Regions from separate parts of the Homo sapiens genome. Here regions 2 and 3 are each linked to region 1. The links are contacts of gene promoters, found by promoter capture Hi-C in blood cells and fetal thymus (Javierre and others, 2016). All regions are on one chromosome and are shown on one strand. Each heading gives the region's core, a stretch centred on a gene start or on the middle of the fragment in contact. The rest is flanking DNA. Distances are from core to core; before and after follow the strand shown. Region 1 holds the start of ARHGAP10 (Rho GTPase activating protein 10). Region 2 overlaps ARHGAP10 (Rho GTPase activating protein 10). Region 3 overlaps ARHGAP10 (Rho GTPase activating protein 10).

The links. Contacts are between HindIII fragments. The CHiCAGO score rates a contact against its expected background, and 5 or more counts as called.
Region 2: a fragment that was not itself captured here is called in contact with the fragment with the promoter of ARHGAP10 in region 1 in 1 of 17 cell types (M1 macrophages); the score reaches 6.2 in M1 macrophages.
Region 3: a contact is called between a fragment that was not itself captured here and the fragment with the promoter of ARHGAP10 in region 1, in 1 of 17 cell types (M0 macrophages). The highest score is 5.2, in M0 macrophages.

The regions. Positions count from the first base shown.
Region 1 is chr4:147,730,087-147,733,361 of GRCh38, forward strand. It overlaps ARHGAP10 (Rho GTPase activating protein 10), which reads left to right and starts at 2,002. Exons shown (of 23, transcript NM_024605.4): 1 at 2,002-2,369. The coding sequence starts at 2,216. RefSeq lists enhancers at 1,613-2,505, 2,506-3,275, 2,719-2,788 and silencers at 1,699-2,218, 2,529-2,608. The HindIII fragment of the contact is 2,455 bases long and covers 401-2,855 here.
Region 2 is chr4:147,992,448-147,996,207 of GRCh38, forward strand. The region is part of intron 18 of ARHGAP10 (Rho GTPase activating protein 10); the gene reads left to right. Among named protein-coding and RNA genes, the nearest start is that of MIR4799, 210 kb to the left of the region's middle. The HindIII fragment of the contact is 1,458 bases long and covers 1,551-3,008 here.
Region 3 is chr4:148,026,529-148,030,176 of GRCh38, forward strand. All of the region lies in intron 19 of ARHGAP10 (Rho GTPase activating protein 10), which reads left to right. Among named protein-coding and RNA genes, the nearest start is that of MIR4799, 250 kb to the left of the region's middle. The HindIII fragment of the contact is 3,526 bases long and covers 73-3,598 here.

The DNA of each region.
Region 1 (3,275 bases), core at 752-3,251:
TTTATGGACAAACATTTTGTGCATCCATTACACAGCTGACAAAGGACATTTTGGTTGATTCTACTTTTTGGCTATTACGAATAATGCTGCTATGAATATTTGTGTGTAAATATTTGCGTGGACATATATTTTCATTTCTTTTGGGTATATATCTAAGCGTGGACTTGCTGGGTCACACGGTAACCTCCATGTTCAATATTGAAGAAGTCTCAGCAGCCCCTCTATGAGAAAAGGTTTGGGTTTCTGCTCTGAGGATTGAGTGTGGTCAGTGCTTGGCTGTTTCGCTAGGCCCTCATTTTTGTTTACACCCCCTCTCTTCTTGTCTTTCTTCCCCTTTATTTGCCTCTTTTATTCTCTTTTCTGTAGACTCCAGTCTCCTGCTGGTTTTAGTAGGAACTGAAGCTTTCACCGCCTAAAAGTTATTTGTAAAACACTTTGAACTCTCTGGAGGATGGACATTAGAGTAATAATGTTTATCTGTGGGTTAGGCACTCCTGGTGCTGTTTTGTAACAAAAGGGCTTATTGAGTAGGAGGCTTATTTAACTTGTTCGGGAGGGTTACCCTCCTACAACATGCTGTCCAAACAGATTCTTAATTACCCAGCTGAGAGTCTGAACGTCTTGAGGAATTACTTTGAAGTTTCTCGTTAATATTACCATCATATCATGTAAGTCTATATCGCGAGTTTGTAGATGTATGGAGTTCCTAGTGGGTGCCCGGCACATAATAATTGCTTAATAAATTGCGATTATGAAACGTTACTCTAATGAACTATTAGTGTTTTTTTTTAAGAAATACTTTTTTTTTTTTTTGAGACATTGTCTCGCTCTGTCGCCCAGGCTGGAGTGCAGTGGCACCATCACGACTCACTGCAACCTCCGCCTCCTGGGTTCAAGCGATTCTCCTGCCTCAGCTGGGACTACAGGCACGTGCCACCGCACCCGGGTACTTTTTGTATTTTAAGTAGAGACGGGGTTTCACCATGTTAGCCAGCTGGTCTCCAACTCCTGACCTCAGGTGATCTACCCGCCTCCGTCTCCCAAAGTGTTGGGATTACAGGCGTGAGCCACCACGTCCGGCCTAAGGTATACATTTTAATACTTTAAAATGCCTAACTTTTTTTGGGACACACTGGAGTTGTTTCATAACACACAAAATAGGCTTTTTGAGGGCACTGACATAAATTCTCATTGATCGTCACCCCCACGCGGTGAAAACCACACGTTACCTGGCATGTTTTCCGGTAGTTATTTTTAGAATAATAAAGATCGTCTTCACCTACCCCAGCAAATTTAATGTGCTGAACACAACAGAAACAACTTTTCTGTGGTTTAGCCAGCCCTCTCTCTTCAACTAAGTTATTTAGTGCGGATACGCAGAGAAGTGTAATAGGAGCTGCTGGGCCACCAAGAAAACGCTCTTGCCATTGTAAGGCTTCGATCTCAAGCGGAGATTTACCACGCATCTCACTTTAAACTGGGAAAGGAACCGGGATAAGGAAAAGAGCCCCCTGTGCGAGTTCGTTCCCAGCTCGGGGTTGGGGGCGTCCCAGGATAAATGAGATAAATGAGTTAATCATCTCCTGCAAGGCAGCCACTTCAGAGTTATGTCGCCCGCCTGCGGGGACTAACGACTGCAATTAAGACGCTCCTTCTCGGTCCCGGTCGGGTTCCGTGCAGCGGGGAGCCGACTGTGAGTCACCCCGGCCCCGGGAGCCCAAGCAAAGGGGAGGGGAGAGCGCCCAGGGTGGAGGGGAGCCGCGGGGCGAAATTCTAGCCCCAGGACGCCTCGGAAGGAAGAGGAGGGGCAGCTGCGCGTGGGGAAGAGAAGGAAGAGGCGTCCAGGGAAGGGAAGGGAGGAAGAAGGAAGGCGGAGGAAAGAGAAGGGGACGAGCGGGAGCGCGGGCCCGGCCGGGTGGCGCCTCGGGGAGTGTCTGCCGCGCGGGGGCCGGGCGGGGCGGGGCCGCGGGCGCTCAGAGCTCGGCGGGGGCTGCCGGGATTGGGGCGCCGCAGCTAGCGCTGGTCTCGGTGGCAGCTCCTCCGCGCCGCAGGACTCGGCTCTACGGGACATGTCCGTGCCGCGCTCGCCGCGCGCCCGGGCCTGCTAGCTCCTCTGTGCTCCCTGAACGCGCGGCGCCGCACCTGGCAGCGGCCTCGGAGCTCGGCTCGGGCAGGAGCGCGCGGCCGTGCGCACCGCGCAGCGACCGCTGCCGTCATGGGGCTGCAGCCCCTGGAGTTCAGCGACTGCTACCTCGACAGCCCGTGGTTCCGGGAGAGGATCCGCGCTCACGAAGCGGAACTCGAGAGGACCAACAAGTTCATCAAAGAGCTCATTAAGGACGGGAAGAACCTCATCGCTGCGACGAAAAGTAAGCGGGGACGCGGGCGCGGACGGGCTGCGGCGTGGCGAGGCGGCTGGGGGAGCCTCTCTCGGCAGGAGACGGAGGGTCTTGTGTCCGGGGCCAGCAGCCAGAGGAACGGGGAATTCATTCCGGACCAGCCCAGCTCTCTCGGAACCCCGGGGGGTCCCTGGAATCATTCCTCCTCGAGGCAGCGCGGCGAGTCCCCATTCCCGCCCCTGCGGCTCTGCGGCGGCGGGAACCAGCTGCCAGCGGGCCCCGCCTGGGCCCCGCCTGGCCCCGGCCGAACACCCCTCGCTGAATGCGCGCTCCGCTGGACCGACCCTAGGCACTCCTGGCCCGGAGTCAGGTTTCATTGCTGCCTAAAGCTACTCACAATCTCTTACAAAACCGAGGCATCTGTTTGCCTAGTTTTGTTTTGTGACTTCTCAAAAGAAATTTCTTGGGGATTCTTTGAAACCCTGCGGGAGTGTTGAGTTTTCCAGAGTCCCCTTAAGCTTCACCTTTTCCCTCTCATTGTCTGATCTTCCCCGACAGTCCTGTTCCAGGTCCTTCACGTGCCAAACCAGAAAGTCCACCTGGCTTTATGCTGCTTCCGCACATTCCTCCCCTGCCGTGCTGAGGAGGGTTCAAAGATTGGGGTTTGGAAGGGTGAGCGGACAGCCTGCCCTCTAGCCTAGGCGGGCACTGCTTGCAAATAGGGAATTCCACCCCGGTTAGGCTTGGTGCCTTCCTCCCCTGAACTTCTGTCTCTTAAACTCGGAAGAAGACACGAGATACAGGAGAGATAACTGTATTTTAGTGTAGTTGAGGAGAGTCTTTCTAGGAGAGAAGGGGCCAAAATTCATGCAGAAATACTGAGTTAGTGATGCTACTGGAAAATGGGGCGGAATTAGCCCCAGTGAGGAGCTGGGC
Region 2 (3,760 bases), core at 1,030-3,529, 260 kb after region 1:
CCCAGCGTGGAGTGCAATGGCGCTATCTCCGCTTACTGCAACCTCCGCCTCCCGGGTTCAAGCCATTCTCTTGTAGCCCTCCTGAGAGGCTGGGATTACAGGCGCCCACCACCAACCCCAGCTAATTTTTGTATTTTTAATAGAGATGGGGTTTCACCATGTTGGCCAGGCTGGTCTTGAACTCCTGATCTCAGGTGATCCACCTGCCTCGGCCTCCCAGAGTGCTGGGATTACAGACGTGAGCCATTGCACCTGGCCGAAAAAGCCTTTTAATAAAAAGGTTTAAAACAATTTCTAGACTTCTGCCATCCAGTATTAGTGCCATTTTCCTCCTCCCATGAGCCATCTTCAATTCATTTAAGATGGCCATGGAAGGTATGAGCTTGTACCACGGGACTTTCTACTTAAATAATGAAAGACACCCATCATCTATTGTTTTGCGATGCTCTGGTATTCAGCCTTCTGCCTGAATGAAGAAGAAAGTAAGAAACTGATTGGAGGGTGTATTGAAGAAGGCACCTCTGTCTTTCAGGACATTATTAGTCATTAGTCATTACTACTTCTTATGCAGATATTTGTAGAATTACCTTCTTTCTAATATCTTACCTATGCATACCTAATTCATAATGATTTGGGAGCAGGGTTTGGCTTTTGCTTTTGTTTATATCTTGTTCTTTCTTGACCAGATAGTGATGAATTCTTTTGATTGTCATGCAGTATTCTGTAAGTTTTTCTTGATATGACAGAGATACATTTATCTAGAATTCTAGAGCAGAGTCAAACCTAATCATTGGAAGCTCTAAAGATCTGTACTCTGCCTGGAATTTGCTTCACAATAATTTTAAGGGTGGGAATATAGATGAACTAAGATTGGTCATGAGTTAGTAATTGATTCGGCTAGGTGATGATGTATGTAGGAGTTCATTATATTATTCTTTTTCCTTACATTTATGTCTGAAATTATTCATAACAATAGTTAAATGACCTGATACTTGTTGCTAGCATCCTTGTATACAATTATTAATTTATTCAGCAAACATTAAGCTGCTATGTGAACAGGTACAAAAGATTAAAAAAGCATGTCATGCTTTCTAGAAGTCCAATATTTAGTGAGAAAGTCAGCTGTGCAACTGTGACACAGTAGAAACCCAGTAGCATGGTCTGGAGATCGTCTGAGTTTGGACCTACAAGGAGCCTGTCGTTTGCTTTGTTCAAAGCCAGGTTAACACCATTTCTGCAATTTAAAGACTTCGTGTACTAAGCATTTATTTGTGAGTCAACATAGTTGTGTCTTCAGAAGATTTACCTATTCCATTCACAGTAGTAGGCCTGCAGAGGATATAATGGATATAATTATGAAATACAAAACTCTTTTTCCTAAGCATTCTAGTCTGCTTGGGGGAGAGGGTAGGCATTAAAGGCTCAGTGAGGAGCTGGTGTTTCAGACATGGGCAAGCTCTAGTTCATGCAAACCGTGAATCAACAGCCAACCCTGAAAGGGTAGATAGTATTGATGTATCTGCAGTTTACAGATCAATGCAAGAAAATGAAGCTTGGAGAGCTGAAATTAACTTGCCCAAGGTCACACAGCTTGCTTTATTCATTTATAGCCTGACTTCTTCCAAAAGGGATTTCGGGCAGCTAAGCCACACAGTTAGAAAGTTCCTTGTGGTCTTTCTACTGTCCCAAGAAAAACAAGGCTGTATTTTTTTCCTTTTGAGCTTAAATGATGCATAGTGTTTCAGTCAACATTACTACATGGATGGCTTCAAGTTTAAATTGCACAAAAGTGCTTATGTATGTCTCTGTTGGAATGTGTGGGAGTAAGAAAGGAAATCCCTGTATTTGATTTCATAAAGTCATGAGCTTTATATAGTTGCTTGAGCCACACATGCCGGTGCCTGGCTGTGTGCACAAGAAAGTTCTTGTTAATCCTTGCACAGCTGGTGTGGTGTTTGTCGTCATTATTACTTATTCTTAATTACCAGAAGTGCACATGGGCTACAGATTTTAGCCTGTGCCAAAGTAAATCTCTAAAGTAGTTGGATTAATAGGTTATGGGGAAGATTTATAATCCTTTGTGAATGATACTAATTCTGTATATGTTCATATAAAGAAACAGTTGACATCAGAAACTCAAAATGTAGATCGTAATCTCAATGTTATTCTCAATATCCATCTCCTGTACTCTTTAATTTGTTGCTGAATCAACATTGCTTTATTCGTAGATTGAAAATGGAATTTATTTCTAGGCTATCCCATTCTTAGGCAATTGTCTGTCTTTCTCTGCCCCAGCAATACGTAAAAGTTGAAACATTCTCCTAGGAAAGGCTTCAAATACTTGATTTCTCTGGAATGTCATTTATGTTTAGGTGGAAATGGGGGGAAATGACCGCTAAGAGGATTAGTCATTATTTTCATCATTTAATGAAGGAATTAGATTATTTGTGCTTAATGTGCTAATAAGCACAGAGTAAGCTGTACTTATTGATGGGTCGACGTGGAAAGGTCCTCTGAGTGAGAATTGTTTCTTGTGTGTAATCGTATTATTCTGTGGTTCCCGCAGAACTGTGTTTCTAGGGCCACAGACAGATCCACAGTGTAACTTTTTTGGAAGTCTATGTGTTTTTATCCACATTCTATGTAACTTAAAACCCTTTTACTTTATTTTATTATTGAGATAGATCCAAACTGTTATAAATTGTTTTTCATTCTCCATTGCTACCCATTCTTGGCAGCCTTCCCATTCATTCCTCTAGGTCAGTGATAACCAGTTTTTATGTTTCACATCCTTTTGAGGATTTGATGAAAAATAATCCACTTTCTGAAAACATACCAGTGCGTATACACCATTCATATACGATTTAAGGGCACACAGTACCTCCAAAGTCTATGAATAGACTTGGTTAGAAACCCTGGCTCTAGGTGAAAACAGCAAGGGTGATATTAAAATACTGTAATAAAAATATGTGATCTACTTACAGTGTGGAGTGTGGGAGGAGTAGGGAAGCTTATCAAGTTAGAGCTTGCCACATGTTACCGTATATTATGTTTTCCTTATGTATTTACCAGCATTATTTCTTGTCTACTTATTATTATCTAAAACAGATATCTCAAACATGTTTTAAGATGACAGAGTAAAGACAGATTTGTCAGCCTTACAATACAGACCACCAGTAGGTTAGAAGAAAAAATAATAACCTGGTATCAGTCAGAGACAAAGGCTAGAGACCAGCAAACAAAATTTCCAAAAATTTGCATGGTCCATCTCTCTCTCTTTTTTTTTCATGACGGAGTCTTGCTCTGTCACCCAGGCTGGAATGCAGTGGCGCGATCTCTGCTCACTGCGAGCTTCGCCTCCTGGGTTCACGCCATTCTCCTGCCTCAGCCTCCCGAGTAGCTGGGACTACAGGCACCCGCCACTACGCCTGGCTAATTTTTTTGTATTTTTAGTAGAGATGGGGTTTCACCATGTCAGCCAGGATGGTCTCCATCTCCTGACCTCGTGATCCGCCTGCCTCAGCCTCCCAAAGTGCTGGGATTACAGGCATCAGCCACTGCGCCTGGTGGTCCATCTCTTTTATACTCCCAACTTGACCTTCCACAGGGGGCCTGTATGTGTGAAATACTCAAAAAGCTCTTCTTTAGAAGTAGGTGCAGGAGATGGTTTGGGCAGCTTTGGGTAAAGACTTGCAACTTCCACAAAGGTACAGTCTCCTCCTGATTGTCCTCCTCTTTTCAGAGAAAGGAGAGAATAGCT
Region 3 (3,648 bases), core at 586-3,085, 300 kb after region 1:
TTCTTTGCAATATATGATTAAATGATATTAAATTTATTTGCAAAAGACTGTAAAATTCTAGTTACTTGCTTAAGCTTCTTTATTGATGATTAATATGAACTAAAATGGATATAGTATCTGGCTAGTTTTCTTAAATTAGAGCAGCTGTTAAATCTTTGTGAGATTCTCATCTTTTATTTTGTTGAAGCCATATTGCTCATTTTTCATATAACATTTAATCTCAACATCAAAGCTGAGTAGATTTGGCTAAGTCAGTTATGAAAAAGCAAAATATGACGTAGGCTGCTAAGTGCTGAAAAGATTAGAAATCAAAGGTTTGCTTTCATTTCATTTTCAAGTTATATCCCATGTTTTTATTTCTTTAGAACTACTAGTAAGATAACTCTAAAAATGTTAAATATATGTTATGTGTTTATTTTCTCCTGCCCCCACTCCAAGTGCATGTCCTTACAATCTCTTACATAAAGAGGGGCTGTTGTGTTTATTGTAATTCCCCCAAATACAAGGAAAGTTCAGGAGGCTATATGAGATCAAAGTGATCTTTGTTATTTTTCATTCAAGGCAGAAGAAATTTTAAGCAAAGGTCTGGGGAGTCGGGGAGAAGAGGATTACCATCTGAATCTCTTTCTTCATGCTAGTTCTAATTTTAAACAAAACTAGACATTTACAGAACTAGGTTTTATATGTATCTTCTGGTGTAATTAAGTATTCTTTGCCTGTCTTCTTTTGTAACATGATACAGCAGCTTATTTAGGCAACTTAAAAAAATATGACTTATAGTGAGTTGAAAACAAAATCATCTTGCAAGCCAATTGGCAAGATTTAATAACATTTGAGTGTTGGTCTTACTTGGGTATCGTCGGGTTGGCACTTTAACATTTGGATCACGAATGTGCTAACTGCAGCACATTTTGTTGAGCATGTGTTATTGTAGTCCTACAGCGTGGTAGATACCGTGATGAGGATACAGAGCCTTCTCAGCAAAAAAATGAAAATACTACTGTTGAGCGGGGCAGAGATGGATAAACAATGACACGTGATCATTTCCTTGTATCCTAAGTAGGAACATATCTTGATCTAGGTGAGTCTCTAAAATCAGAGTAGGACAAATATGTCATATATAGATGTCCTTTCAGCCTGAGTAATATCAAATTAGAACTTTGAATAATTAGCTAAAATTTAAATGTCACACGTCAACGAGAGCAATGCTGATGATATAAATTAGCCGTCTTAGGTAGGTTGAAAGAATTTGGTTTGATTTTGAGGCATGAGCAAGAGAACAGAAAACTAGAAAGCAGGCCACTGTGCGGTCTTTTTAAATGTAGATTTTTAATTCTAAACGATGGAATGCTGTTAGCCATTTGGAAGTTTTTTTTGCCTCTACCATTTATTAGTGGTTTTTATTATACTAGATATGAAAATCAGAATTATACTGCATATCAATTGAAGAGCTTTTATATGCTCCACATCCTGCCACATACGGTTTTTCCTTTAAAGGAGCTAATTTTCTGTTCCCATTCTGTTTGTCACTGCAGTGAAATAAGAAACAACGTGGCAGTAAGTGCCCAGTGCTAGCTCTGAGGAAGGGAAGTCTGTAGGGGGTGCTTTCTGGTTTCCTTGAAATGAGCTGTTTCGGCAGTTGGGTGGGAAAGGGTTTCAGGTAAGGGGAGTAGCGTGACTGAGGCATGGCAGGAGCAGAGAGCCGGAGCCAGGTGTGAGGGTAGGAGATTCCCTGATTAGAAGGGGACAGTGTTGACAGTTGTGAATGATGGGCGGAACTGATGTGAAAGACTTAGACCCAGGAGAGACAGCTTAAGGGACAAATGGGTGGATTGGAGCCTGGGCTGGGGAATATGTATCCTGACTGTATACTCATGGACAAATTGCTTACCCTCTCTAAATCTATTTTATTAGCTACAAAATCAGGGTAATAATAGTATCTACCACTGAGGATGGTTGAGAAGGTTCAGTTGTTAATGTGTTTAGCCTAACGTCTGGCACATAGTAAGCACTCGAACTCTAGCTGCTGCTGTAGGGTAGTATTCTTAAAGCCAGGGAAAGGTGCTTTAGGTTTAAAATGATAAGAGGAACCACTGAATATTTTTCAGCAAGGGAGAAGAGTTGTAACATTTTGAAAATAATACTTAAGAAACTTAATCTGACTTAATCTGCCAGTAGAAATCTGAAAGGCAGCCATGGTAAAAGGCTGATGAAGTAATTTAGGCTGAGGTTGAAGTGGGCTTGAATTAGCACTAGAAAGCAAAAATAAAATGGATATCTGGGAGAGATGTTAAAGCAAATCGGGGACTTCTCAACTGACTAGATGGAGAGATCAAGGCAGATAAAGTGGACATTATTCGCCACAGATTAGGCTCATAGGTAAATCTATCATTGTGTTTATGTTTTTGTTTTTATCTTCAGTTTTTTCCTTGCAGCTTAAAAACAGACCATCTTTCCATCAAAAGGAAGGAAACATGCCATTTTGTTAGTGTGTTCAATACGTATTCTTATGCGTAACTGCTTTGAAAAATAGGTTTAGTAAAAAATGGTGTAGAATGTCTTGGTATAAATAGTGTATATGGAAATAGTGTATATGGGAAAGTCAGTAGAAAGAGAGAAATAGTAAATAGTTACTAAAATATTCCATGTGCTTAGAAAAAGAACAGTCCTATAACTATGAGCAAAGTACAGCTCATTTTTCTCCAATTTTTCCTCACAGGCACATATATCCACGTTCATCCATAGGCTCATATTAAGGGATGGGAGGCCACTCACTCTAGTGAGACCCTTCATTAGAAGCCAAGGATAGCTCACATTCACGGCAGCGGTGCACTCTGTAATCTCAGCTCCCAAGAGAGCATCTATAGAATGCCTCTTTATGAAAATGTGCTTTCATAAGTGAATTGTAACTACTCTGTCTTTCCCACGATGTTAGCAGGACACAAACTATGTGGAGGTGTGAGAAGGACAACTGGAAAACCATTGTTGGCATGGATTTTCGTTGACATTCTGTAGCTATAGATGTTTCCTTGTAAACATGTGATCAGCTTGATGCAGATTATAATCAATCCAGGTAACTGGACTAAGCAGACCTTTGCATTAAGATGGGCAGTCTGTCTTTTCTCCATGCTTACCAATTTTTTTTTGGCATGGCATTTCATGGGTGGGCTCTGGATAATAACTTCCCAAGCCCAGAAGCCCTTTGCCATCTCCTCACAGCAGTGTTATGATTCCTTGACATGGAATTACTGTGTTGTGAAGTTTAATCTAAGACCAGGCTTGAATGTGTGACAGTATATGTAGACAGATTATTTCTTAACTCACTTTTACAATGATGAGATCAATGGGTTGGAAAAGGCAGCCAGAAGATTCAGGGCTGTAATTGAGTTGTGGCGTGCCTAGAAATTATGTGGGATGCCTCCCCTGCGTTGGTGTCTCCCCAGAAACCTCCCGTGAGGCTCAGCATCCCCCCCCCCACCAACCCCAATGCTAGTGACAAAGTGAAAGGCAACTTCTTCTATTGCTTCCTATGTAATTTTAACTGTGCTTCTGTGTGGGATGAACATTTCCCCCTTTCTGTGGAGGAGGAAAAAAAAAAAGCTTATTTAATGCCTTTAAAAAAAATACATAGCTGCTTCTGTGGTGAAA